5 separate regions of the Homo sapiens genome follow, and all the other regions are linked to region 4. Evidence: promoter capture Hi-C in human tissues and cell types (Jung and others, 2019). All regions are on one chromosome and are shown on one strand. The core of a region is centred on a gene start or on the middle of the fragment in contact, and the rest is flanking DNA. Distances in the headings are between cores, read along the strand shown. Region 1 overlaps CFAP418-AS1 (CFAP418 antisense RNA 1). Region 2 has its middle 20 kb from the start of LINC01298. Region 3 overlaps CFAP418-AS1 (CFAP418 antisense RNA 1). Region 4 holds the start of GDF6 (growth differentiation factor 6). Region 5 overlaps CFAP418-AS1 (CFAP418 antisense RNA 1).

Region 1 (2,700 bases), core at 42-2,541, 720 kb before region 4:
GTGTGCCATGAGCACAGTTGCAGGCAAATAGCCTTCAGCTATTTGGGGTAATTGCATGAAAGAGCCTCGCATCTAAGGAAAAGTAATCAAGATCTACTGTGAACTGGGTGAAACTACTTGGCTTATTAATAGTCAAGCATCCTATGTACCAGCTTCCTTTTGTACATTCTCTTTATAGAACCCATGCACAATCAGTATTTTAATCCCCATTATACAGATGACACAGCTCAGAGAGGCCAAGTCCTTGCTCAAAATCTCTTTACAAAAATTTTCTAGGCACTCCAAATCTAGAGAAGGAATGCCTTCCAATTCATTGTCATTATTTTAGCTTACCACAAATTTGAGTTTAAATGAGTCATTTTTAAGGTTTAGGTGGAGCCAGGGAACATCAGTGGCATATGCTATTTTTCTGCCAGTTCCCTTTCTTCCCTCTCATTTGCCAGGCGTCCACTCGGAAAGGGCTTTCCAGGGCTCCAGTGTTGGTGGCCCAGCTTTTGCAGGAGAACCTACGACATCATGTGATTTTCTGGTCACCTTGGCTCTGGGGAAGGTGCAGGCTCTTCCCAGGGCCTGCTTTGTGTCTCTGTAGTGGTGATGACGAGAGCACTAAGCTCCATTGGATGACAGGACATGCTGGCTTTGGTTTTGCCCCAGCATTGGCAAGTTGAGCACATTCCTTTTTGACCCTCCTAGAGCTGCTGTGTGGGGCAGTCAGGCAGAATCACACCATTGGGGTGGATCTAGGGGGATGGAGTGTGGAATGTGCTGAGCTCTGTCTTCCTTGCCAACTAGGAATGGGAAGACTGGAGGATTGCTGGAGGGAGGGCAGGGGTCTTCATGGAGGTGGGCAAGATGGGAGCCAGGGCCCAGTGCAGTGCAGGAGGCCTCCGGGGGAGTCATTTCTCAGGCACATGAAGGGGATGTTCTCAGAACCGCACTTGGCAGGGACTGTCTCTTCATTTGATCTTACCACATGGCAGTCTTGGTCTCCAGGGCCATACATAGCTAACGAGGAACACTTGTCTGGCATTCACATTTACAAATAACTTTCCTGTGCAAGATCTGAGGATGGTGAATCTTGAGGGGATCTGATCCAATCTCTCCATGGCTGTTTTGCTTCCACATTTTAGCAATCACTGATTCCAGTGCCTACTATGTGCAACAATAATGGGAAACACAAGCATTCGGATTGCATTTTTCGTTCAACATATTTCTGACTTCCATTATCCAATTTTATCCTATATCCCATCCTGTGAGATTGGATCTTATGCCCTCATTTTTTTCAGATGAGAAAATTAAAGCTTAGGGGGCAAATTAACATGTACTAGTTTGTTAAGCTGTGGACACTAATAATATGATCTACCATAGTAGTAATACTACTGTAAGTGCTTACATTCACTTAATTCTCAGAGCATTATTATTCTCAGTTGACATGTGCAAAACCTGAGGTGCAAAGTGACTAACAACTTGCCCAAGATCATATAGTCAATAAGAAGAGGGAGGATGTGAATTTAGACAACCTGGCTCCATAGACTAGTTTCAACCACTGTGCTATCCGACAGAGTAGGGCTCAATGCCAGGGCTCAGTTCCATACTGTTCTTTCCTCTCTACCGTGCTACCTTTCTATGCCAAATGATCTGGAATATATAAAGGAAAATGACATTGTTCTTGCTTATAGTCTTTTGAGGGGAAAGGTGTGCAACAGTTGACTCTTCAGGGTGAAAACACTAAATGCTAAGCTGAGGTCAAGGGGAACTCTAGGGAACCCTGAGGAATGGCCCAGGAGACCTAGACCTCATAGCCTCCATAGCCCCTTCCCTGCTGATCCTTTTCATACTGGCCTGGCCAGTCCTAATTTCTCTCTGAAATAGAGTAGCCTTCACAGTTGTCCTGGGTTGGTCATTTTGACCTCATATTTAGGGGTTTGGGGTAATTTCTCTAGGAAGTTTCTCCCTATATGCAGCATGACCAATAAGTGTAGAGGTCACCAGCAAGCAAATTGCTCAAAAGAAGTATCACAAACTGTCCTGTACCAAATGCTCTACTTCCTGAAGATGGAGACCCTTTGGGCGCCTGGCTGGTTCTCACCAACTTGGAAGGATCATGTGTTGCTGCCTCTGTTGGGTGCTGCCATTTATAATCTTGAACTGAACCCAGCACATCATGGCTACTTTCTCCCAGCTGTGAGCCCAGTTCAGTCTTGCTATACTTCTGGGGTTGATGGTGCAATTAGAGATGTCGTTTAGTTACCATCACCACCATAATTTTGCCAGAATACCTACAGTTTGGTTGCTTTGATAATCATTTCCTGCTAGCTCTGAAAGTATATCTAGGCCCCCCTGTTGGGGTTCTTGCCTGCTCTTTCCTTGCCCACCCCAAGTATACGTCTTTGTCATCATAGCTTGAAACTTCTGGAACTCTGGCCGATTAATGCCTGGTATGGGTATTTAGGAGACATGCATTTGTTTAGTTCAGGCTTTAAATTAGCCAGGAACCACCCCCTCAAATTGACTTAGAATTTGTTTGACTATTTGATGTTTGGGGAACAAGTTATACGGAAGTTGGTGTCTCACTCACCAACAAGGATCTCAGATAGTCTTGCTTTGTGGTTTATAGTGAGAAGGTGATAATCCGTGTTCATGGTTATATCACCAAGTAACATAAAACCATCTGATGTCATGTTTCCTTAGCACTTTACT
Region 2 (2,700 bases), core at 43-2,542, 920 kb before region 4:
CTCAAAAAGCCCATCAGCATTAACCCACTTGCCCTTGCGATTTCCTCTCTCTGCTCACCAAGGTCGTTACCTCGATTTTCAACCTTTCATTGTGAGTGAGGAATCATTTCATTGTTTCTCTTTAACTTTAGATCCACTTAGATTCCTTTAAGTGCTACGGAATTGATTATTTAAGTGAATCAGTTAGAAGGTTCCAATTTTTCTTTCCCAGAAAGAAAGCTCAAGCCCACAAGCTTACGCTCAAGCTCAAGCTCACAAGCTCAAGATGACAAGTGCTTCTGTGTAGAAAGGGCTGGTAAACTTCCCTGGAAAGATCCTAATATTTGGTGCCTATCCTTTTCTCCTAAAAGCAAAGACAGGGGGTTTACGCTAGGGAGGATTTCTATTTTCAGCCAGAGAAAAACATTTACCTCCACCACTATGGGATATTGTTAACAGCAGGCAGATTTGGATGAAGTGTTCTGGGTGCTTTTCCTGAGAGACCAAAGCCCAACAAAGAAATGAGATCTGGTCCTCAGTGTAGGTCTGCCCGCTATGGGTTAGATTCTCAACTTGTTTCACTGTTTGGAGGGCTCAGGATGGTGGGTCTTTTACAACCCTGAGTCCCTGGAGACAAATTTGTCTCTTTCTTCTTCGCTGTAAGTCACTAACTCTACCCCTGGAAAGGCTGCTTCAGGACCTCCCTCCTTTGCTGGGTCCCTCAGGCCTGAGAAACAGCCAGAGTTGGGTTCAGAATGTGACTTGATGACGCAACAGCCGACCTGAAGTTGCAGTAAGAATTATAGACCATAAAAGAGACGTTTAACTGAATTGCTTTTTTCCCCCTATCTGGAAGCAGTATGTTTCCAGCACAAGCATTGACACATAGGTTAGCAGTTTCCATTTTGGTCACATTACAATCAATGATGAGCAACAGGGGGATGGCCACTGTTGAATTTCACTCAGTTGTGAAACAGCCTAAACACACGGACTATGCCTGTAGTACTTGATGTCTGGTACTGAGCAGAGTCAAAGACACCTTACGTAAAAGACCAATGATTACAATGCCTTAGGAAATGACCCATGTTTTGCCAACCCTTGCTCCTGTCTGGTGTCTGGCACCTCTGGGTCCACTGCCATGCCTAGCACAGTGCAGGTGGGCATTTAAGTGAAATGGTCCTCGCTTTGAAGGCTCTCTTTAAATCTGTCACTTTGAGCCTCCTGTTGTAAGATGAAAGTTGGTGGGAATTAAACATTTTAAGGCAAAAAAAGAAGAATGTTGAAGGAAAAAACCTATGTAGAATCATGGCAGAAAGCCATCTTTAAGGTATGCATTTTTACATTGTACAGAGATCTCAGCAAATAATTCACACGTATTAAGTAATTACTATGTGCCAGGAGCCTCGCTAAATGCTCTACATAGATTATCCCATCCACTTCCTCCCAGCATCACTCTCTGTGAGGTGAGCATTCTTAACCCTGTTGCACAGGCTGGGGAGAAGAGGCTTAGGGAGGATGCGTGGCCTGTAGAACATCACATGCCACATAAGGTATAGGGCCAGTATTCAAATCAAGGCAGTCTAACCCCAGGCCTGTGCTCATAACCTCACACAATGCAGCAGCCTGTTAATGTGAGACTCTGCTTATTAACAGGGGCAAAGGCAAGAAGTGGCCTGGAGCTCCTTTGCCGAGGACGTGGTGCTGAGCATCATGAGTGCACACATTATCTGTGCCTTCAAGGTTGGGGGCAGGGTCATGGGCCATGCAAATCCTTTCCTTCTCACTCCCTTGATTTATCACTGGACCTAGGCTATTTCAGAATAAATTTGTGCTAGTAACCGAATACAATACCTAAAACTGTTCCTTAAAATCTGAGTGGAAAGAGTGGAAAGAAGTCCTTTAGTGCATAGTCAGCTGTGGAGGAAAACCAAGGCCAGATGGAAGGGACTTGAAAAGCGTTTGTGGGGTCCTTCCACCACCAGAGGCTGAGGCTATAGCTATTTATGATAGAATATACCTTACTCCATGGGGAAAACTCTTGTCTAATCCCCCATCCCTCAAAAAATTATGTAAGGATAAAACATTATATTCTTTGAGAGATCTTTTACAATTTTTCCTACATACCTGTGAATGTCAATTTTACTTGACTCTAAGAACTTAAAATGGTTTCTATGTTATGTACTTTCTTTATTTTTTCCATCCACTTTCTAGAGTCCTGCTTTCTATCTAACATTGCTAATAAGTGCTGCTCTTTGCAATGGAAGATGGTGCCAGTGACTCACTTTCTAGAGGGCCACGCACTCTAAGATACTTCTCCTAGTGGGAGGAATTGGTATTGTCAACCTTTGGAGGCTGTTACTTTTTTCTGTGTAAAGTGAATTGGTCATTAGGGAACTCAAACCTTGAAGTTGGCATTGACTGTTTCTAGGGGACTAAAAGAAACATTGATCATAATACACACTCAACCTAAATGAAATAATCTTTTCTGAATGATTACATTATGAAAAGAGATTCATGGAACTTTTATTCTGGGAGGGACATTAAAAATCACTTAGTATAACCTCATATTTTTATACTGGCAGTAAGGACTCTTAGAGAATTGTTTTTTAATAGGTGAGGATACTAAAGCCCAAAGAGGGAAGTGATATGCCCAAGGTCTTATTGCTGTTAGTGGATTGTAACCCTGGCTGTACTACGCTAGAATAATTGGGAGAGTTGTTG
Region 3 (2,700 bases), core at 25-2,524, 760 kb before region 4:
CTCAGCAGAGGATAGCCTGGACCTAGGTCTGCAGGGCCCCCTTCACTGCTGGGGGAAATGCTGGCACTTCATGGGAATGAGGAGAGGGAGAAAGACCTCTCAAGAGGGAAGAAGCTGTCCTCACATGGAGTTTAAACTTTGAGTGGTTTTAATTGGCTGCTTTGAATATTTTTGTTTTTCTGCCATCAGCAGATGTGGGGGCTCAAAAAAAGTAGAGTCGTTATAACAAAATAAAAGACTTTTTTTTTTTTTTTTTTTTTTTTTGCAATATCTGAATCACAGTGTGTACTTTTCAAGTCTCCCCATGCATGCACATATGTGCATGCATTCACACACAATATAGAATCATATGTAGTACTTCTGCAGATCTAAGAGATTGCTGGCTATTAAAAGATGCAAGCATTTTGAACTGGGAGGAGATAAGAAGAGAAAGGGCCAAGTGATCCAGTTCTAAGTGTCATCTTTTATCATGAAGACAATAAAATCTTGAGTTTATGTTCACTTCAAACAAAAATCATATGTAGTACTTTGGGAGTTGGAGACAAGGAAGAAGAAGGAATTCAAGATGACACTGAAGTGCCAAGTCTGAATGATTAGACCAGGGACAATGTCAAATATCTATAACATGAATAGGTAAGGGGTGTGGTGGATAAAGCTTGTTTGCCACAGATTGAAGGTAGCCAATTCTTCCACTCTGGAGGTAATCATTGGAGATACTCCTTTTGGACCCACCTTGCTCTGGGCTGCCTCGTCTCTGGCTAGAGTGGGTCTGTCTTCTTGTTGGCACTTATTTAGCTGGTTGGGGTCTGGAAGAGAACACAGTGTAATCAGACTGTGCCTCCATGGCCTAACCACCTCTTTCAATGAGCAAAAGTATAGTCAAATTAGTTTTTGTTACCAGTAGCAACTACAAAATAAACTGTAAATTTTTGATGTTAGTGTTAATTTAGCCTTGAACTTCATTGTAGAATTAAATTTAAAGTTTAGCATCTAAGAATCTTAGGATTAGAAGAAACCTTAGAGGCAATTAAATCCAACTTCAGCCCTACATAAAAATTCAAAGAAACACCTTGGTGTTTTATCAACAAGACAAGTTCCTTAGGGGGAGGGACTGTGCTTTACTTATTTTTGAATTCCCCATGCATTGTACAATGCCTGGAACATTGTAGGTGCTCCTTAAATGTTTCAGTGCTTGTCCAATATGCTTGTTAGTTGGTAATAAGCAAACCGGCATATTTTAGAATAAGTAATCTAAGTTTCCAAATCTAGAGTTTTGTTCACTGTAGACTACAGACAAGTTTAGCAGATGCTAAACCACAGGTTCTAGCTTACATGCTAGAAACATCTAAGTCAATGACGGTGATGGAGATGTCAGGACTCTGCAAACATTAAACATCTGGCTTTCTATGCTGACATACAGAATTAGGAATTAAAGCACTTTGTTTAAAAATATTTAAAAAACCCTTCAAGACTGGGAAAAGACACCCTTCTTTATAGCCAGGCAGACTAAAGACAATTGTGACGTATTGACATGTTTTTAACATTAATACTGGTTTTTTTTTTTTTTGTTTTTTTTTTTCTCTTGAGACAGAGTCTCGCTCTATCGCCCAGGTTAGAGTGCGGTGGCATGATCTTGGCTCACTGCAACCTCCATCTCCCGGGTTCAAGCAATTCTCATGCCTCAGCTTCCCAACTAGCTGGGATTATAGGAGCCTGCTACCATGCCCGGCTAACTTTTTTTTTTTTTTTTTTGTATTTATAGTAGGGATGGGGTTTCACCATATTGGCCAGGCTGGTCTTGAACTCCTGGTTTCAAGTGATCCGCCTGCCTCCTCCCAGAGTGCTGGCGTGGGCCACCGCACCCGGCCAACATTAATACTTTTCATGTTGAAAATATAGATTTCACATCTGGGAACAAAGAAAAAAAACAGAAGAATTTCTCCCCTAGGGATCAGCAATATCCCATCTGAAAGGACAAATCTAGTATGCTGGTTGGGTAAGCATAATTACAGCAGTGGCAGGACCTGGAGACTTTCTGATAGGAAGAGTCACAGCAGGGAATGAAGCCAAATAATAAAATAAAAAAACTTTCCAAAATGATGAGGGCCCAGGTTGTTACATCTCCATGACAACAGAAAATGCAATATTTACACCCTTATTTACCCTTCTATTCAACCAAAAAAATGCATGGCATTTGCCATGGTAACGCCTACATCATATATGCATGTATCACTTCAGATATGTGGCCTGCTATTCTAAAAACAACAAACACATACCAAGACATGAGCGTCATGTGAAACCTCTACTCATTTTACAATGTTTTGATGGAAAAATATGTCCCGCTGGACGTTAACATCTTTTTTTCTCAAGGACTGTGTTCCAGTTTCAGTGGCAGAAAACCCAGGTGTCCTTCTGCTTCTTTCTCTGCCTCCAGAGTCACAGTGAGAGCCATGTCGATGTGTCATTGTGAGTGGTCGGGGGAGGAAGTTTGGGCTAAGAGTGTCAGCCATAGGACAGGTGAGAGGGGGTTATGGTTTTGACAGGACAGGGAAGGTGGCTCTGTAACACAGGAGAGAGCTGTCTGTATCCCCAGAGTGATTTGAAAAGCCTCGATAATCCTTTTTTCCCCTGAAGCTTTCTTCCGTGGATTTGCATTGAGAGATGACATTCAGACAGTCACATCTTTCAATTACAGCAACG
Region 4 (2,700 bases), core at 178-2,677:
AGATCAACGCCGGTGGCAAGAAGGGGCCGCAAGGGTTTCCGCAGACACCCACACATGCAGGCGTTCCCACAGAGGGTACCAGGGATTTCCCAGACCCCCACCAGCCCTCAGGAATAGCGTAGAGAGAGGAACGTCGCCTGGCTGAGAAAGGTGGATGGGCATACCCATGTACCTTTGTGTATTAAGTACCCACAACCTCCGAACTTAGCCGTCCCTGTCCCGGCCCGCCCAACTGCTGCCGCCGCATCTGCAGAAACCACTCGTGTTGAGGCCTCGGAGCAGCCGGGAGCACCACGCTGGAGCAAAAAAGCCGGAGGGCGCAGGGCTCCAGCCCGGCTGACCATCCCACCCAGCGCAGGGACCAACGGAAAACCCGCGCGGCGCCAGGACCAGGGGGCTGCCCGACGCCGCTCGCGGACTAGTTCCTCAGACTGTGGGACTCCCTAGTGCCGGCTTTGCCCAGGGCTTTCCAAGGCTGTCTCATGCCCTAGATCTGCCCCAGCAGCTCAGGCCTTGGACTGCGAACCCAGTATCCCGAGACACCGATTCCATCAGTCCCCATCCCGACCCCTCTCCAGCCGGGTTCATCCGCCTGCTGCCTCCCGTCCTCCACGTTTCCCCCACCAGCCACCAACAAGCGGCAACCACGCTGCCTTCTGCAAAAGAGGAAGAAGGAAAGAAGGGAGAGAGAAAGAAAGGGGGGGAAAGGAAGGGAGGTTTAGAGACTGGAATAGAATCCGCAGCCACATTCAGAAACTTACTCGAGCTTGAGAAAAACAATTTAAGAAAAGTAAAAAGGAAGTGTCCAGAGCAGGAAGGGAATTCACAAATGTAGCCTCCAGCGGGAACAGCTCCCTGGCTGCCGAGCTCCAGCGGGAGGGGAGTCGAGCGTTTTCTTTGCCACTTACCTAGTCCCCTGTCTACAAAGCTGGTGATCGTATTAGCCGACTTGGAAGACTGGAAAAAGCTGGCATTGATGCCCAGCTTCTCAGCGATGGAGTAAGTCCTGTAGATTGACAGCATGTACTCGTGGGGCACCACGCGCGGACCCCTGCCTGGCGGCTCCTGCGCCCGGGGCTGCTGAGCCCGGGGTTCGTCCTGAGGCCGCGGCTGTGGTTCCTGGCCCTCCCGGCCCGCGTCACTGTCGCGCGGCGCCCGCTGCATCTTGCCTTCCTTGCGGCTTCGCATGCCCTTGGTGGAACCCAGCTCGGCGGACGACGAGGAGGATGAGATGGAAGCCTGCTGGAAACCGGGCAAATCCCACAGAAAACTGATGAGGAAGACGGCCGAGAGCAGGACCCTGGGAGTATCCATGGCGGGCAAGTGGCTGCGTCTCCCCAGGAGGCGGTGGCGGCGGCGCAGGACGCGCGGGGCACGGAGCGGCTGGACAGCGGCCGGGGCCCGGCTCCTCGGGCGGACTCGGAGTGCGAGGAGCCGGGTCCCAGCCACACAAACCCCGGCCCCGCCACGCCCCCTCCCGCCCCTCGCCGGGAGGGGAGGAATGGGGAGGGAGGGCAGAGGAGGGGTGGGGAGGGTGGGAGGAGAGCCGGGTGGTGCGGGCCGGAGGTGTGGGGGAGAGGGGCCGCGGTGCGCCGGTGTGGCAGGAAGACGCAGCGCCCCCGCGGGACGCGCGCGGGGTTGCCGGGCGGTGCGCGCGGCGCGGGCCGCAAGCGCTGACCGGGGGAAGGCGGGCGCTGCCGGCCCGTGGCCGGGGAGCAAAGGCTGGCCCGCCGCGCCAGGGTCCCCCTCGAACTCCCGGAGGTGTGGTCCCTCCGCAGCGCGGCCCCGGCTCTCGGTCCTCGCCAGCCGCCTCCACTTTCCTGGGAGCGAGCGGCCCCGGAGGAGGGAAGCGGCGGCGGCGCCCCCAAGAGACAGCTTGGAGCAGGCGCCTCTGCTGCAGGCTGCGTGCTGCCTCGGGGCGGTGGTACCCTCCCTCCTCGGCCCCAACCGCCAGGCCTGCCGTTTGCGCCCCTCAGGGGCCAGCCCGGAGCCAGAGAAGCCTCGCCCTGGGCCAGGCGCAGGGCCCAGCTCGGAACAGCCCCATTTTCTCGGTTGGGTATCGCTCTCCACAAAGACAGGCGTCTATTCCCGACCCTCGAGGTCAGGCAAAGGCCACGAGTCTTTAGAGTTTGGATCGATGCTAAAAGCTGCTGCGCTCCCCTGCAGGCCCCAGCCTCTCCTCTCGCAGTCCCCAACCTCTTCTGACGCAGACTTTAGCTGCTCCACTTCTTCGTCTGCTCCCGGGATCCTCTCCCTCTCGCGGCCTGCCCCCCGCCTCCACTGCATCCCCATTTTCCCTCTCTTCTTTCCCTCCCGCCTGCAGGACTTCCTCCTTCCCCAAGTTCCTTCTGCATTCCAATCCCTCTTCCCCAGCCTGCTTTTCTTCTCACACTGCCCTCCCATCTCACACTGCCTTCCCACCCTCTCTCTTCCCGGCCTCCCCCCTCGCCTTCCAGTGGACCCCTCCCTTTGCAGCTCTACCCCAATCTGTTTCTCTTCAGCCCAGCCTCGCCCCATCACGAGTTTCCTTTATCTGTCCCCAGATTCCCCGTGCCTGTCTTCCCCGCCCACTGCCTCGCTCATTCCTGGGCCTGCACGCTGAAAGGCGATGCGGCGTAGCGCTGCTTCTGTCTGCCACAGTGCTCTGCCCTGGACTGCTATGGGCAGAAGAGTTTCCCTCAGTACTGATTGGGTGCTCAG
Region 5 (2,700 bases), core at 186-2,685, 630 kb before region 4:
GAATTACTATTATAAACAAAAGAAATCACTGCATACTGATAAAAGGTTGAATTCCTTTGGAATAACAGTTCAAAACATGCATGTACATAAAAGCATAACTTTAAATCATATAAAAAATGCTGAACAATGAGGATACATATTCTTAAAACCACCATCATTATAAGCAATATTAAAATAACGCTTACCAACTGATAACTCAAACAGAAAAATTAATTAGGATAAAGAACATTTACCCAACACAGTCATCAGACTTGATACTTTGACTCCAATACCAAGCCATTAGAGAAAAATTATCCTTTTCAAGCATCCACCGAACATTTATGAAAACTGACTAGTTACTGCAATATGTCTGATTAAATTTTATAGAACTGTTATGCAGACTGTATTCTCTGATCACAATGCAACTAAGTTAGAAATATACTACAAAAAGATTAATGAAGTACAATCACACGTTTTAAAATTTAAAGACAAAATAGCTCATGGGTCAAAGAAAAATAAAAATGAAATGTGGAAAATAGAATGGAATAAAAAGGAAAATATTATGTATCAGATTTATTCAATGCAGATAAAGCAGTACTTATATATTTATACAGTTGAACCTTGAACAACATGGGGGTTATGGGTGTCAACTCCTTCCACAGTAGAAAATCAGTGTACAACTTTTGACTGTTCCAAAACTCAATTACTAATAGCTTATGTTGTCTGGAAGCTTTAATAACATAAACAGTCTATAAACACATATTCTGCATGTCATATGTGTTATATACTGTATTCTTACAATAAGCTAGAGAAAAGAAAATGCTATTAAGAAAATCATAAGGAAGACGAAATATAGTTACTCCTCATTAACTGGAAGTGGATTATCATAAATGTCTTCATTCTTGTCATCTTCACGTTGAGTAGGCTGAGGAGGAAGAGACGGAAAAGATGAGGGGTTACTCTTACTATCTCAGGAATGGCATAGGCAGAAGAAGTGGAGAAGGTGGAAGGGGAGGCAGGAGAGACAGGCATGCTCGATGTAACTTTATGGAAATACATCATAATTTCTATCTGACTTATTTTTTTCATTTCTCTAAAAATGTTCCTATGTAGTACCAATCCTTCTTCCACTGTTTGCTTTAGCTTCAGTGCCCATATCATAGAAGGGTCAATATTGTAAAGGAAGTCAAAAACAGCCTTGAATCATTGAAACCCTTCTTTCTGCCAGTTTGTTTAATATTAATTTGTTTTCTGGCACTGCTTCTTCTATGTCTTCTTCCTGCTCTTCTGGCACTGGTTTTGAAACACTCGTCTCCATTAAGTCATCTTCTGTTAATTTCTCTGGTGTGGTATCTGTTAGCTCTTGTATTTCTCCAAGACCTGTATCTTGAAACCCTTCAGGCCCTGCCTTTCTCGCCCTATCCACAATCTTTTTCATTGTTTCCTTGATTGGCTCCATTATAAGTTCTGTGAAGTCATGCACAAGATCTGGACACAGTCTTTTCCAGCAGGAATTTATTGTTTCAGGCTTGATGACATTCACAGCTTTTTCCATTATATAAGAACAATGACATTTTCATCATCATTGGTGTAATCTTTCTAGACTTCATGATGTTCTCTCTATCAGGGGTTTTTCCATAGCATTGACAATTCTTTTTTTTTTCTTTATTATACTTTAAGTTTTAGGGTACATGTATTCTTTTCATAGAGTACTGCGTGTGATGAGCCTTAAAGGTCCATATGACGTCAGATCTAGAGGCTGAATTAGGGACCTTATGTTTGGGAGCAAGTAGACCACTTCAGTGCCTTCAATGTTGAACTCATGGGGTTCTGGGTGGCCAAGGACATTGTCTCATATGAAAAGAACTTTAAAAGTCAGTCCCTTTCTGGCAAGGTACTTCCTGACTTCAGGGACAAAACATCAGTGGAACCAATCCAGAAAAAGTGTTCTTGTTATTCAGACCTTCTTGTGCAACTAAAAGCCTGGCAGGTGGTGTTTATCTTTCCCATTCAAAGCCCAGAGATTAGCAGATTCAGAGATAAGGGCAGTCCTGATTATAAACCTACTGCATTTGCACAAAATGGCAGTTATCCTATCTCTTCCTGCCTTAAATCCTGGTGCTTGCTTCTCTTCCTTAGCAATAAATGTCTTTGATTGCTTTTTTTTTTTTTTCCCCCAGAATAAGCTGCTTTTACCTGTGTTAGAAACCTGTTTAGATAGATGTCCTTTCTCCTCAATGATTGACAATTCTTTTCATAGGGTACTGGGTGTGATGTCCTTTCTCCTTAATGATTTCCTTAATGGTGCCTGGGAACTCACGTCTGCCATTGCGCCCAGCCTCTCCTGTTATATTGACAGTTTTTAAGTCAAATCTCTTCCTAAAATTATCAAACCATCCTTTGCTGGCATTAAATTCTCTAGGTTTAGATCCTTCACCTTCCTTTTGCTTTCAGTTGTCACATAATGACTTTGTTTTTCTAGAATCGTATTAGAATCTATAGGTATGCCTTTCTTATAGAAATCCTGTAACCATATAAAAGCTACATTTTTAATATGAGATAAAAAGGTATTTTGCAAAAAGTACAAGGTTTTTGTGCTGGCTGGTGTAGCTGCAGTGATAGATTAGTGAATTTCCTTTTCTTTGTTTTATTGTGGTTCTTACGCTGGATTCATTTATCTTGAAATGGTAGGCAACAGCAGCTGCAGACCTTAATCTACAG

What was found. Contacts are between HindIII fragments. The study calls those that stand out against the background at their distance.
Region 1: a fragment that was not itself captured here is called in contact with the fragment with the promoter of GDF6 in region 4 in 1 of the 25 tissues and cell types used here (lymphoblastoid cells).
Region 2: a fragment that was not itself captured here is called in contact with the fragment with the promoter of GDF6 in region 4 in 1 of the 25 tissues and cell types used here (lymphoblastoid cells).
Region 3: a contact is called between a fragment that was not itself captured here and the fragment with the promoter of GDF6 in region 4, in 1 of the 25 tissues and cell types used here (dorsolateral prefrontal cortex).
Region 5: a fragment that was not itself captured here is called in contact with the fragment with the promoter of GDF6 in region 4 in 2 of the 25 tissues and cell types used here (lymphoblastoid cells and mesenchymal stem cells).

The regions. Positions count from the first base shown.
Region 1 is chr8:95,438,896-95,441,595 of GRCh38, forward strand. The region is part of intron 2 of CFAP418-AS1 (CFAP418 antisense RNA 1); the gene reads left to right. Among named protein-coding and RNA genes, the nearest start is that of TRS-AGA2-5, 170 kb to the left of the region's middle. The HindIII fragment of the contact is 3,815 bases long and covers 1-2,700 here.
Region 2 is chr8:95,235,054-95,237,753 of GRCh38, forward strand. No RefSeq gene overlaps it. Among named protein-coding and RNA genes, the nearest start is that of LINC01298, 20 kb to the left of the region's middle. The HindIII fragment of the contact is 6,913 bases long and covers 1-2,700 here.
Region 3 is chr8:95,403,441-95,406,140 of GRCh38, forward strand. The region is part of intron 2 of CFAP418-AS1 (CFAP418 antisense RNA 1); the gene reads left to right. Among named protein-coding and RNA genes, the nearest start is that of TRS-AGA2-5, 140 kb to the left of the region's middle. The HindIII fragment of the contact is 3,195 bases long and covers 1-2,700 here.
Region 4 is chr8:96,159,379-96,162,078 of GRCh38, forward strand. GDF6 (growth differentiation factor 6) reads right to left here and starts at 1,428. Exons shown (of 2, transcript NM_001001557.4): 1 at 909-1,428. The coding sequence starts at 1,314. The HindIII fragment of the contact is 22,921 bases long and covers 1-2,700 here.
Region 5 is chr8:95,529,097-95,531,796 of GRCh38, forward strand. All of the region lies in intron 2 of CFAP418-AS1 (CFAP418 antisense RNA 1), which reads left to right. Among named protein-coding and RNA genes, the nearest start is that of TRS-AGA2-5, 260 kb to the left of the region's middle. The HindIII fragment of the contact is 6,368 bases long and covers 1-2,700 here.